Regions from separate parts of the Homo sapiens genome. Here all the other regions are linked to region 1. Evidence: promoter capture Hi-C in human tissues and cell types (Jung and others, 2019). All regions are on one chromosome and are shown on one strand. Each heading gives the region's core, a stretch centred on a gene start or on the middle of the fragment in contact. The rest is flanking DNA. Distances are from core to core; before and after follow the strand shown. Region 1 holds the start of PRF1 (perforin 1). Region 2 overlaps SGPL1 (sphingosine-1-phosphate lyase 1). Region 3 has its middle 9.4 kb from the start of SGPL1.

Region 1 (3,869 bases), core at 1,098-3,597:
ATGAACCTTGAAAGTATTATGTTAAATGAAACAAGCCAGACACAAAAGGCCACATATGCTATGATTCTTTTTATATGAATTGTCGAAAATGGGAAAATTAACAGAGAGATAAAGTAGATTAGCGTTATGAAGAAATGAGAAATGGCCAGGCACGGTGGCTCACGCCTGTAATCCCAGCACTTTGGGAGGCCAAGGTGGGCTGATCACTTGCAGATCAGGAGTTCAAGACCAGCCTGGCCATCATGGTGAAACCCCGTCTCTACTAAAAATACAAAAAAAAAAAAAAAAAATTAGCCAGGCGTGGTAGCGCATGCCTGTAGTCCCAGCTACTGGGGAGGCTGAGGTGGGAGAATCGCTTGAACCTGGGAGGCAGAGGTTGCAGTAAGCCGAGATCATGCCACTGCACTCCAGTCTGGGTGACAAATCAAGACTTCATCTCAAAAAAAAAAAAAAAAAGAAAAAGAAAAAGAAAAAGAAATGAGAAATGACCACCAGTGGGTATAGGTTTTATTTCTGGAAAGTGATGAAGATGTTCTAAAATTGACTGTAGCGGTGGCTGTACAACTCTGTGAACATACTAAAGCCATTGAATCATATACTTGAAATGGGTGAATTATATGGTATGTGAATTACATCTAAAGATTGTTGTTACTAAAGAAAACCATATACATGGTGTCTGGTGATTGAACAAATTACGCACTTGTTGAAACTTGTGTCTCTGAGGAAAAACTCTGCTTAATGCACATTCAAGTGTCAAGTTTCAGAAGGACAGCTGTCATCAGTTAAACGAGTCAAAAACAGTCATCACCCTCAATGTCATTTCGGCTCTTTAATGGATCCCCTAACAACCACTAGCATCTCTTGGGCATTAGCCACTTCATAAGCCACTTGAAACCTGCCAAGTGTACATTTTATCATTAGCTGGAAGGATGTGTAGAATTCCAAAGTCCTCTCTTTGATTTTATAGGTGAGGAAACTAACGCTCAGAAAGGGGGTTGATATCTATCGCCGTGAGGCATACGGTAAGTTTCTGGTGAAGCTGGGATCAGAACCTGTTTAGACTTTGCCTCTCTTTTCCCGCAGATACTTTGCAGGACTTCTATGTCCCTCAAACCGGCCTTCCTGTCATGGTCAGGAAAGAAACTCCTCACAGCCTCAGCATCCAAGTCAGGCCATGGGTGACAGCTGGAAAGTGATCAGGAGGCTGCAGTTTCTAGAAGAGGGTGGGGACACTGCGGAGAGAAGATGGGGCCAGATTCCGAGAAGACAGCATAAGCCCCTGTTCCTGTAAGAGCAGGGACGGAAGCAGGGACATAAACGCAAGGGATGAGCCCCAAAGTGTGACCCATGAGACATGATGTCACATGTGGTCTGGAGCCTGCGGCCACTTCTTCCCATCATATACACAGTTATGAGAACAAGTTGTGAGAACCACCTCCTCCCTTACCCAGCTGCCCCCACCCCAGAAGCCGTGTGATTTTGCCCCCCAGTGCCCTGTGAGTCACTCCACCCATGGAAACCTCACCCCACCCTGACCTCAAGCAAGGCAGAGTGCAGAAGACATGTCCTCCGGTGCTACCAGACCACTCTCACCAGCACCCACGACCTCAGCAGGGCTGGAGCCAGCGTGGAGGCCACTGGCTGTCCTCACAAAGCGAGGAGCAGGAGCCCCTGTTCGAGGAACATGCTTGGAGTTCGGAGCCTGGGCTAGGGTGGGATGTAGGTTGAGCAGGAAGTGGATGGCAAGATTAGAGCAACATCTCTCTTCTCCCACTCAGGGAGGAGGGAATGGCCACAGGCTCTGACACTCAAGAAGGGCCAGGCACAGTTCCAAGCACTTCACAACAACCCCTAGGGTCTACATGACCTACAATCCCAATTGTTCAGTGAAGAAACTGAGGCACAGTGAGGCTGAAGAACCCTACCAGTCCACACTGCTGGTGCATAACCGAGCTGCCCAAGCCCCGGCGGTCTGGCGTGTAGGCCCATGCTCTGAGCCGCCGCCTCTGCTTGCCTCTTACATCCCACACATGCGATGCTGTGCATCAGAAGCAAGGAGATGGCCCTGCTGGCCTGTTCATCAACACCAGGGCCGAGTCTCAAAGTCCTCAGCGCCCCGCCCTCCTCCGCCTGTGTGCCCTGAGTCCCCGAGCCCCAGCAGCTCTACTCGGCAGATGAGCCTCTGGCCCTGCTGCTCGCTTCCTGAGGGCTGTCAGTGGGGAGCCGGATGAGGGCTGAGGACAGGGTGGGTGCTTGTGGGAGGGGAGAGCACAAAGGACCTGTGACCACAGCTGGGGGCGGGGCAGGAAGTAGAAGTGATGTGAGTGGTGGCTGGTGCAAGGAGCCACAGTGGGCTGCCTGGGGGGCTGATGCCACCATTCCAGGAGCCTCGGTGAAGAGAGGATATCCATCTGTGTAGCCGCTTCTCTATACGGGATTCCAGGTAAGGAGAGAGCAGGGATTGGGGGGCCTGGGGCCCTGGGTGGAGGGGAAGAGGCTGATGGAGCAGGAAGTGCTGTGACCTATAAGACAAGACACCTGGGTCACAGACGGTGCCCATCACTAACTCGCTGGGCAGCCCTGTGTCCACCCTGGGCCTCAGTTTCCTCATGTATGAAATGAAGAGGTAGCGTGCAGTTTCTAAGGCCCTGCAAGTGCTGACATTAAAGCTTCTAAGAAAGCTGGAAAGAGGCTCCCTGGGACAGAATACCATGAGAGTCAGGATGAGGGCTGAGTTCACTGGATTAGGGTTATGACTGTGCCCGCCTCCTAGCTGGGATGAGCCCAGGGCCTTTGAAGATTCCCCTGGCCTCTTTGCCTCCCTGGGGCGAGCCACGCTGCCTGAAATTCCACCCTTCAAGTCACACCTTTGGGCAGGGCAGGAGGCTCCAGCTATAATGGGGGCTCTCCATAGCCCTCTTGTCTCAGAACCTGTGGTACCCAAGGGCAAAGGCCTTTGAAGAGCTCAGCTTGGATAAGGTTAGGCTTGGGTAAGGTTAGAGAAAGGAGGTTCCAGATCATAAACAGGCCCAGGCAAGGCCCCAGAAACACCTTAAAATTAGGAAGAACCTTCCAGACAATCATTGTCCATAGTAGGCAATAGGGGGGCCCCTGTCACTGCCGAAGGCCACAGAGCTTGGCAGGGAGTGGCAAAGAGGGGAGGGGCAGCAAGAAAGGATCTGAAGAGCAACCATCGAGGCCTCTCCCCACACAAAATCCAAGGGTGTGGTCAGGTCTGCCCCTTTTTTTTTTTTTTTTTGAGGCAGAGTCTTACTCTATCACCCAGGCGGGAGTGCAGTGGTACGATCTTGGCTCACTGCAACCTCCGCCTCCTGGGTTCAAGCGATTCTCCTGTCTCAGCCTCCCAAGTAGCTGGGATTACAGGCACCCGCCACCATGCCCAGCTAATTTTTGTATTTTTAGTAAAGAGGGGGTTTCACCACGTTGGCCAGGCTGGTCTCGAACTTCTGACCTCCAGTGATCCACCTGCCTCTGCCTCCCACAGTGTTCGGTTTACAGGTGTGAGCCACCACACCTGGCCAGGTCGGCAGATTTTATTCTAGAATTCGGGCTGATGTTATTCCATAAAGCTCAGAGGGAGAGCCCCAAAGGGAAAATGAGAAGAATAGGTGCAATATAGGACCTCATTTCTCTTCCAATTCTGTTAAGGGCTCAGTGGGAGGGAGAGAGGTTAGAGAGAGTGACAGAGACAAAGAAACAGAGTGAGAGTCAGGGTGGGCAAAGGGTGGCTTGTTCTGGGGCCAAAAATGACACTTCTTCAGAATGAAGGCTTCCTCAGGTCCCCAGACCCCTCCCTAAACCTGCTACAGCTACTCTGTCCCCTCTTCTGTGGCCACAGCCCCCTCCCC
Region 2 (3,869 bases), core at 751-3,250, 230 kb before region 1:
TATCCAGCAATTCCTAAGCACATACTGTAGCAACTACCCAGATATCTGAAAAGGACAGTGACCTTTGAGTATTCCCCTGAACTGACACCTCACCACTACTCTTGCGGACTCTGAGAGTCATGTTAATCTGTTCTACAGAAAGGCAGCTGTGGTGTCCTAGAAAGTCTGGACTGGTAATCAAAACCTTCGGCTCTAATTTTAGCTCTCACTTAGAAGCTGTGTGATGTGTGGCACAACACTAAACCTCTATGCAACTGGACTCTGCTCATCTGCAAAAATAGAAGCCATTGGGATAATTCAACAAAACGTTCAGGAGAAAAAAAAAAGATACCATCGTCCACTCACAGGGTTGTTGTGAATATTAAATGAGATAAGGTAATAAGAAAATGACTGCAGATAATAAACACTCATTAAATATTCAGTGAACCTGAATTATCCAATGATAAACATTTTCCTTTTCTCTTCAATAAGCAACAAGGAAAAGTAACCTTCCCAGTCACAAAGGAGCTGGAAGAGGCTTTAAGTAGTTTGATTCCCATGCCTATGTTGTATTTTCTTACAGACGGTGGTAATAAAACACACCTTAGTAATGAGCTATTTCTCAGTTTTCTAAGAGAGATGTTAAGTCAACTCTTAATCTTCAACAATCTATTAAATCAATCAGAAGGCTGCGAGTGCCCTCTGGCCTACCTATACAACAAGATTAAATCACTTACCTACTATCTTTACAGATCGTAAACCTGTGTGTTTTCAGTCATCCAAACAGACTGTTGACTCTTGTGGTCGTGATTGTTGGGAAAGCATTTGAAAACATTTTCAGAAAGGGCTGGGTAACAGAGTCTTAGGCTTTCTTCCACTCTGGCCCAACACAGCCAGACAGGGAGCAGACTTACCCTGGCATCCTCATATTTGCCCTCCCCAGCGCCCTTCAGGACACTTCTGAAAGGCATCCCCTTTCAGAAGAATGTGAAAACAGAATTTCCAATTTGCCTCAATTGTCTCAAAGACTCGGTGCCATTAAGACTGGAATTCAATACAGAATTGATCTATTCCTTTTTAGACCCATCTGTCAAAACGAATTCAAAAGAATGGAATTAAATGCTTCAGTGAAAGCCTCCAAAAAACATGGTCCCCCAATATTGAGTATAAAGTGTTACTACAATAGCCACTTAGAATCTAAAGCATTCTAGAAGATTATGATTTTAACCTGAGAATTAACTACTACAAATATTTTAAATTCTGCCCTTAACAGGGTCCTTTTCATACTCAAAAAGAACTAAGGTTGCTTTGTTCCCATCAATTGTGTATTAACATTTACAGACTAGATAAACAAGAATGCAGTAGGCTTTACTCTCTGGGGAAATTACAGAAAAGGAAGGGCATTTCACATTTTAGAATTGCTTGTACAGGCTGGGTACAGTGGCTCACACCCATAATCGCAGCACTTTAGGAAGCCGAGGCTTCTCAATGAGGATGGTTAGAGACCCAGAGTTCAAGGCTGCAGGAAGCCATGATCGCACCACCGCACTCCTGCCTGGGCAACAGGGTGAAACCCTGTCTCCGAAAAAAATAAAAATAAAAAATAAAATAAAAGTGCCTATACAACTTCAGGAAAGAGTTCTCAGTGCTCTTCTCCATGTGTGGTATGCAGATGACAGAAATTTAACATTTGCTGCCCAAAGCTAAATCAAGAAGTTATATATTAAAACTCTGGTAGCGTAAATTAGTACAACCACTTTGGAAATCTGTTTGGCAGTACACGTTACCACACAGCAACTCTACATTTTATGTTTACCAAGACATGTTCAAGAAGGCAGCAGTGTCATTCACAATAGCCAAAAAACTAGAAACATAAATGTTCTACAACTACAGAACAAATTAGTTATAATATAGTTATACATTGTAACACTACACAGCAATAAGAAAGAAAAACTAATGCTACCTAAGAACATGACTGAATCTCACAAACACAATGTTGAGCAAAAAGGCCACTCACAAAAGAGAATATACTGTATGTTTCCACTTTATGTAAAGTTCAAAATCAGCAAAACTAAGCAAAACCTTTGGTAGGTATCAACTGGGAGGGACATTAAGAAGCTGGCTGGAGTGCTGGAAATGTTTAATATCTTGATCTGGAAGTATATTCATACATAAATATTTACTGACCTGGATAATTAAGATTTGTGCCCTTTACTGTATGCAAATTGGACCTCAAAAAAAAAGCCCTATGATTTTTTTAAACTCAAAAATGACTCATTCACTTTATGGGATAACAGAACAAATCGCTGATACATAAAGCCTGAATAATGGGCTAGGATTGTTCTGCAGTTTCTGCCTATACTAACAGGCAACTCATTCATTTATCATACATTTGAAGTTTCCTATTTCATGACAAAAAGCTGATGTAGCTATATTATGTCAAAAAGCAAATTATATGAAAAGCTCAACTTACAAGATGTAACAATTTTAAATCTGAATGCACCTAGTAACAAAATCTCAGCAAATATACAGCAAAATCTATTAATAATAGAACTAAAAAGGAGAAATAACTGATAAGGCATATGACTTGAAGAGGCAGCCACAAAACAGAAAATCCAAGTGGTTGGTAAACATTGAAAAGGGTACTTAACCACATCAGTTATCAGGAAATGCATACGGAAATTACAATTACATTTATCTGCTTACCAGATTGTCAAAAAATAAGCTTTATAAATATCAGGTTTGCCAAGTTGGGTGGAAATAACTCTCATATATTGTTGATAGTGGTATAAATTGTATTGGCCTCTTCAGAAAAGTTTAGCAATATCTAGTGAAGTTAGGCATGTATGCCTTTACAATCAGCAATTCCACTCCTAGGCACAAATCCCAGAAAAACTCTTGCACTTGTGATCACTTGTTATATAAGAACGCTCATAACAGCAATGTTTGAAAAAGCCTCAAATTGGAAACAACCCAAATGTGAATTATAAGTCAAATGGATAAATAACTGCAGTTTAGTCACACAATAAAATACTATATATACAGCAATAAAAATGAATGAACTTAAACTACATGCAATAACATGGATCGCATGAATACTGAGCAACACAGGAAAATCACAAAAATAAAAATACATATGCATCCATTTACATCAAGTTTAAAAAAAAACAAACTAAACTTAGGATGCATACACAGGTGGTTAAAACTATTTTTAAAAAGGCAAGGGAATAATTATAAAAGTCAGGATGGGGTTATCCATAGAGGGGAAGAAAGGAAATATTTGTAACAGGGTGAAGCGTAGAGTTAGAGATAAATGGTTTATATCCTAATCTGGTATCGTTGTTTTATTATTGTTCATTAAAATGTAGATATGTGCTTTCTATACTCTTCTGCACGTATAATAAATTCCAAAATAATTTTTAATTAAAATGGAGGGCAAGCCCTTCTTTTTCCGTTTCCTCTTCCTCTTCATGAATGAAACATGAACCTGACAGGTAGAACCCCAGGCAGCTACCCTGGCCCAGGAGGGGATGCACTACTGATAGCGGAATGACAGACAGAAGCAGCCTGGCACCTCAAAGACTCAGGAATGGCCTTATCGGCATGGAATGGAATGGGAATGAATGGAATGGAATGGAATTGTACTGGCATTGCATTGTATTGTATTGTACTGTAGTACTGTATTGTATTGTATTGTTGTGTTGTGTTGTATTGTATTGTACTGTGTTGTAATTTTTTTGAGAGAGTCTCACTCTGTCGTCCAGGCTGGAGTGCGGTAGTGTGACCTTGGCTCACTGCAACCTCCACCTCCCGCGTTCAAGCGATTCTCATGCCTCAGCCTCCTGAGTAGCTGGGATTGATTACAGGCACCCACCACCACACCCGGCTAA
Region 3 (3,869 bases), core at 559-3,058, 200 kb before region 1:
TGTATTTTTAATAGAGACGGGGTTTTACCACATTGGCCAGGCTGGTCTTGAATTCCTGACCTTGGGTGATCCACCCGCCTCAGCCTCCCAGTCATGAGCCACCATACCTGGCAATTTTAATAGCATAGTAGGGTAGTTCAACATCTCAATTTTCCAAGGAAAGACAGAAATCTAGATTTTTAAAAATTCTCTCAATTTTAAAATTATGATGTCCTAAGAGCCTGCCAGAGTCAGAGATTATTCTCACTCTCTTTGCAAGGGCTACTTTGGTTCTTTATGTTAAACAGTGGGAACAGTTCAGCACTCCAAGAAACAGAGCCCACTTAAAGGGCTTGTCATTTACCCCTAGACTCAAGCTTCATATGTTACCAACAATGCTTTTCAGCCATCTGTGGAGAGTGCTTCCTTTTTCCATACACCCAAGTTGCTCAGAACTCCCATTTTCTTGGGGCAGACACAGGGGTTGCCTGCAGCCCCTCTCCTTGACCAAGCTCTAGGGGAAGCACTGTTGCTTCAAAGGGGAATAATGCAGTCCCTGGGGCAGAAATGAGGCTGATCATGACTTCTCTCTCTCCTCTAGGCGCTGCAGGCAGGGGCAACAGGCAGGTCCCTCTTTATTCTTAATCAACAACAGGAAATAGAAAGCCAGCATAATTCTGGATAAAAACAGCCCATAATTTTATAGGACTATGTGGTTTTCTTGTCGCAATGTGCATAATTTATCTTGTGACCACAATGTAACTCACTGAATCACCTCTGTTTGTTAATTCCATCTTTTTCCTCCCAAGATAGAAAGGGGGAAAAAAATCTCTAGTTGTATGGTATTGGTCAAGAGATCTAAAAGATCATAAAGTGTAATACGACCAAGGAACTCCCAGAACTTTGGGCAACTCATTCAGTTGTTTTGAAGATTTTTTAAAATTGGGATACATTGTATGTACAGACAAGTCCACAAATCAAAGTGTAGAGCTAGATGAATATTGACATAGTGAACACCATTGTTCAGCACCACCCAGATCAAGAAACAGAATGTCACCAGTTCAATTGTTTTTTAAATAAATGCAAATGCAGATGGCAATCCTCCTGTCTGAGACCTCCCAGTCCTGTAGGAAACAGTGTTTTGATCTTCATCCAAAGAGCAACAGCCGTTGAGGTCTTTTCAGTCAAGGGACTGACAATATCACATTTGTGTTTTAGAACAATCCGTCTGCGTGGTATGGAGAATGGCTAGGAGAGAATTCATATGGGCAGAAAAGGTACTCAGCAAAGAATGAAAATAGTTGGTTCTAGGGTACAACAATGGCATAAGCTTAGAAGACAGACCTTTGGAAAGTGACAGAACAGATTAAAACAAGACTCCCAAAGCCACAGGCTACCCTGTGCCTGGCAAGCAGGCTCCCACATGTGCCCTCAAGCCAAGATTCCCAGGGAAGAAGTCACATTCAGAGCTCAGGGCAAACTAACCCATAGCTAGTGGGCTACACCTTTAACTTGTTGCAGCTGGATTGCGGTACCTCTCCCTTAACCACAGGATTCTTTCTGACTTGAAGGTTGTTTGGCAGAAGTAACCAGTAGAGTAATTGTGTTCATGCTGATGCTATTTCAATTTATCCTAAGTGCTATGGGTTGAACTGTGTCCCCCAACAATCCATGTGGTGAATATGGCCTTACTGGAAAATAGGGTCATGGCAGATGTAATGAGTTAAGATGAAGTATTACTGGAATAGGGTGCACCCCTAGCCTAATATGACTGGTGTCCTTATAAAATGGGGCAATTTGGACAGACATGCATAGAGGGGGAGCACCATGTGAAAATGAAGGTAGCAATCAGAGTGATGACTTTATAAGCCAAAGACCATCAAAGGTTGCCAACAAACCACCAGTAGCTAGGAGAGGGCCATGAAACGTGTTTTTCCTCATAGCTCTCAGAAGGAACCAGCCCTGCCAACACCTTGATCTCAGACTTCTATCTTGCAGAAATGGGAGACAATCCATTTCTGTTGTGCAAGCCACCCAGTTTGTGGCACTTTGTTACAACAGCCTGATTAGCAAGCTAACACAAATAGATTCTCACGCTAGCCCCAAACCTCAGTAGGTTGGCAATGGAGGAATGGGAAGGGCAGGGTGACATGACCATTCTCAGTGGCCTCATGTGCCCACTGACCACCCAAGTGTTGGGGCAGTGGTGGGGACTTGGAAGCCTGCAGAGCCCTCCAATAGCTGCTGCCAACTGTCTTTCTGGGAGACAAAGCAGCCTCAAGCTAGTCCTTGTGGGTCTGCTTGAGGGCACTGCTACATTCAGTTTTAGGGTATAAACCCACACCTGCCACTTAGGGACAGCTGTTGCAGGAGGTGCTGCAGAGGAAACCACTCACTCAGACATATTTCAAATGCCCACTCTTGCTATCCACTATCCATTGAATTCAAGTGCGTCAAATGTTTAAACCATGTGCCCTGGCTGCCCATCCAAACATCTAACTCAACATTCCTAGCTACTGCATCATCTTAGAACAAACTCAACTCATTTCATTTGAATATTCATATGAATCCCTTCAATACAGACATCATACAAGTCCTTTAAAACAAACTGTTTATAGCTAGTAGCCATCTCCTGACCTCAGCTGTCCCCCTCCAGGGAAAGCTTACAAAGTTTCTAGTTGGGAACAGAAGGCCCTTTGGGACTTGCCCAATGTTGTCTCAGGACATGACCTCACAACAGTAAAAACAAGTCAAAACCCAAGGCCTACTGGCAGAGAATCAGTTAAAGGACAAGCATAACTAAGTCAGCAGAGGTTACCTGGGCCTCACCCCAGCCTACATGGAAAGCACTTACCTGGTAAGCGCTCCGTAAATGGTAGCCCATAGCAATAATCATCTGTCAGTGGCTGTATTGATCTATCTGTGAATCAGATCATATCTGGAGAAGATAACCTTGAAGGGAAAGACACCATAAGAAGCCCAGTTAACTGAATGCCTTTCTTGAACTTGGCCACAGTGACCTCTACGATCAGCCGCTGCTTCTCTCCACCTTCATCTCCCCCATTTCCACCTCACTCTCAGACTTTATGTCCCAACTATACTCACAGTGACTATCTGGGATACTTTTGAAACTAAGGACATATTATTAAGTTTTCTGGGACAACAAGCATAAATTGGTCTGTTCTAACAATCTGAGTCTTCTAGTCTCCCTAGCCATCTAGAACAACTTAGAGTTTCCATAACATGCCCTGGGCTTTTATAGCTCCAGACTTTTGCATGTGCTATTCCCTTTTCTTGGAACATCCTTCTCTCCTTGGTCTACTTTGCAACCTTCCCCAAGACCCCTAGGTAGGCTCGAATTCTCTTTTCCTGTGTCTCCATTTCCCTAACACTTAGCACATTAAGTCTTAATTTCTCTGGCTCCCTCAAGACCAGTAACCACTCGAGGATGATATTATGTCTTTTCACCTGTATGTTCTCTAATCTATTCCGTGTTACAGACATTCAACAAATGTGTGTCTAATCAATGATTTTGTGGTTACCTGGAAAAGAAGTGGGTGTCAGAACTAACCACAAATGTCTGAAGAGTTGTCATGGTGAAGAAGGCCCAGACTTGATTCGTGTGGCCATAAAGGATAGAACAAGAATACTAACCAGAAGCCTCAAGGAGGCATATTTCAGCTCAATATTAAGAAGAACTTTCTAGGCAAGAGACCTAAACAGAAAATGAACGGGCAGCCTTGAGCAGTAGAGAGCTTGTTGTCATTAGAAGTGTTTAAATGATAAATGCTAACAAACCCTTGGTAGGAATGAGGCAAGGATTCAAGCATGTAGTAGATGAATGATCTGAATAAATACCTGAGACTCTATGACTCACTTATTCATCCGTT

The links. Contacts are between HindIII fragments. The study calls those that stand out against the background at their distance.
Region 2: a fragment that was not itself captured here is called in contact with the fragment with the promoter of PRF1 in region 1 in 1 of the 25 tissues and cell types used here (adrenal gland).
Region 3: a fragment that was not itself captured here is called in contact with the fragment with the promoter of PRF1 in region 1 in 2 of the 25 tissues and cell types used here (adrenal gland and heart left ventricle).

What each region holds. Positions count from the first base shown.
Region 1 is chr10:70,601,219-70,605,087 of GRCh38, reverse strand. It overlaps PRF1 (perforin 1), which reads left to right and starts at 2,347. Exons shown (of 3, transcript NM_001083116.3): 1 at 2,347-2,443. The HindIII fragment of the contact is 18,183 bases long and covers 1-3,869 here.
Region 2 is chr10:70,826,032-70,829,900 of GRCh38, reverse strand. All of the region lies in intron 2 of SGPL1 (sphingosine-1-phosphate lyase 1), which reads right to left. Among named protein-coding and RNA genes, the nearest start is that of SGPL1, 12 kb to the right of the region's middle. The HindIII fragment of the contact is 4,688 bases long and covers 1-3,869 here.
Region 3 is chr10:70,804,616-70,808,484 of GRCh38, reverse strand. No RefSeq gene overlaps it. Among named protein-coding and RNA genes, the nearest start is that of SGPL1, 9.4 kb to the left of the region's middle. The HindIII fragment of the contact is 4,615 bases long and covers 1-3,869 here.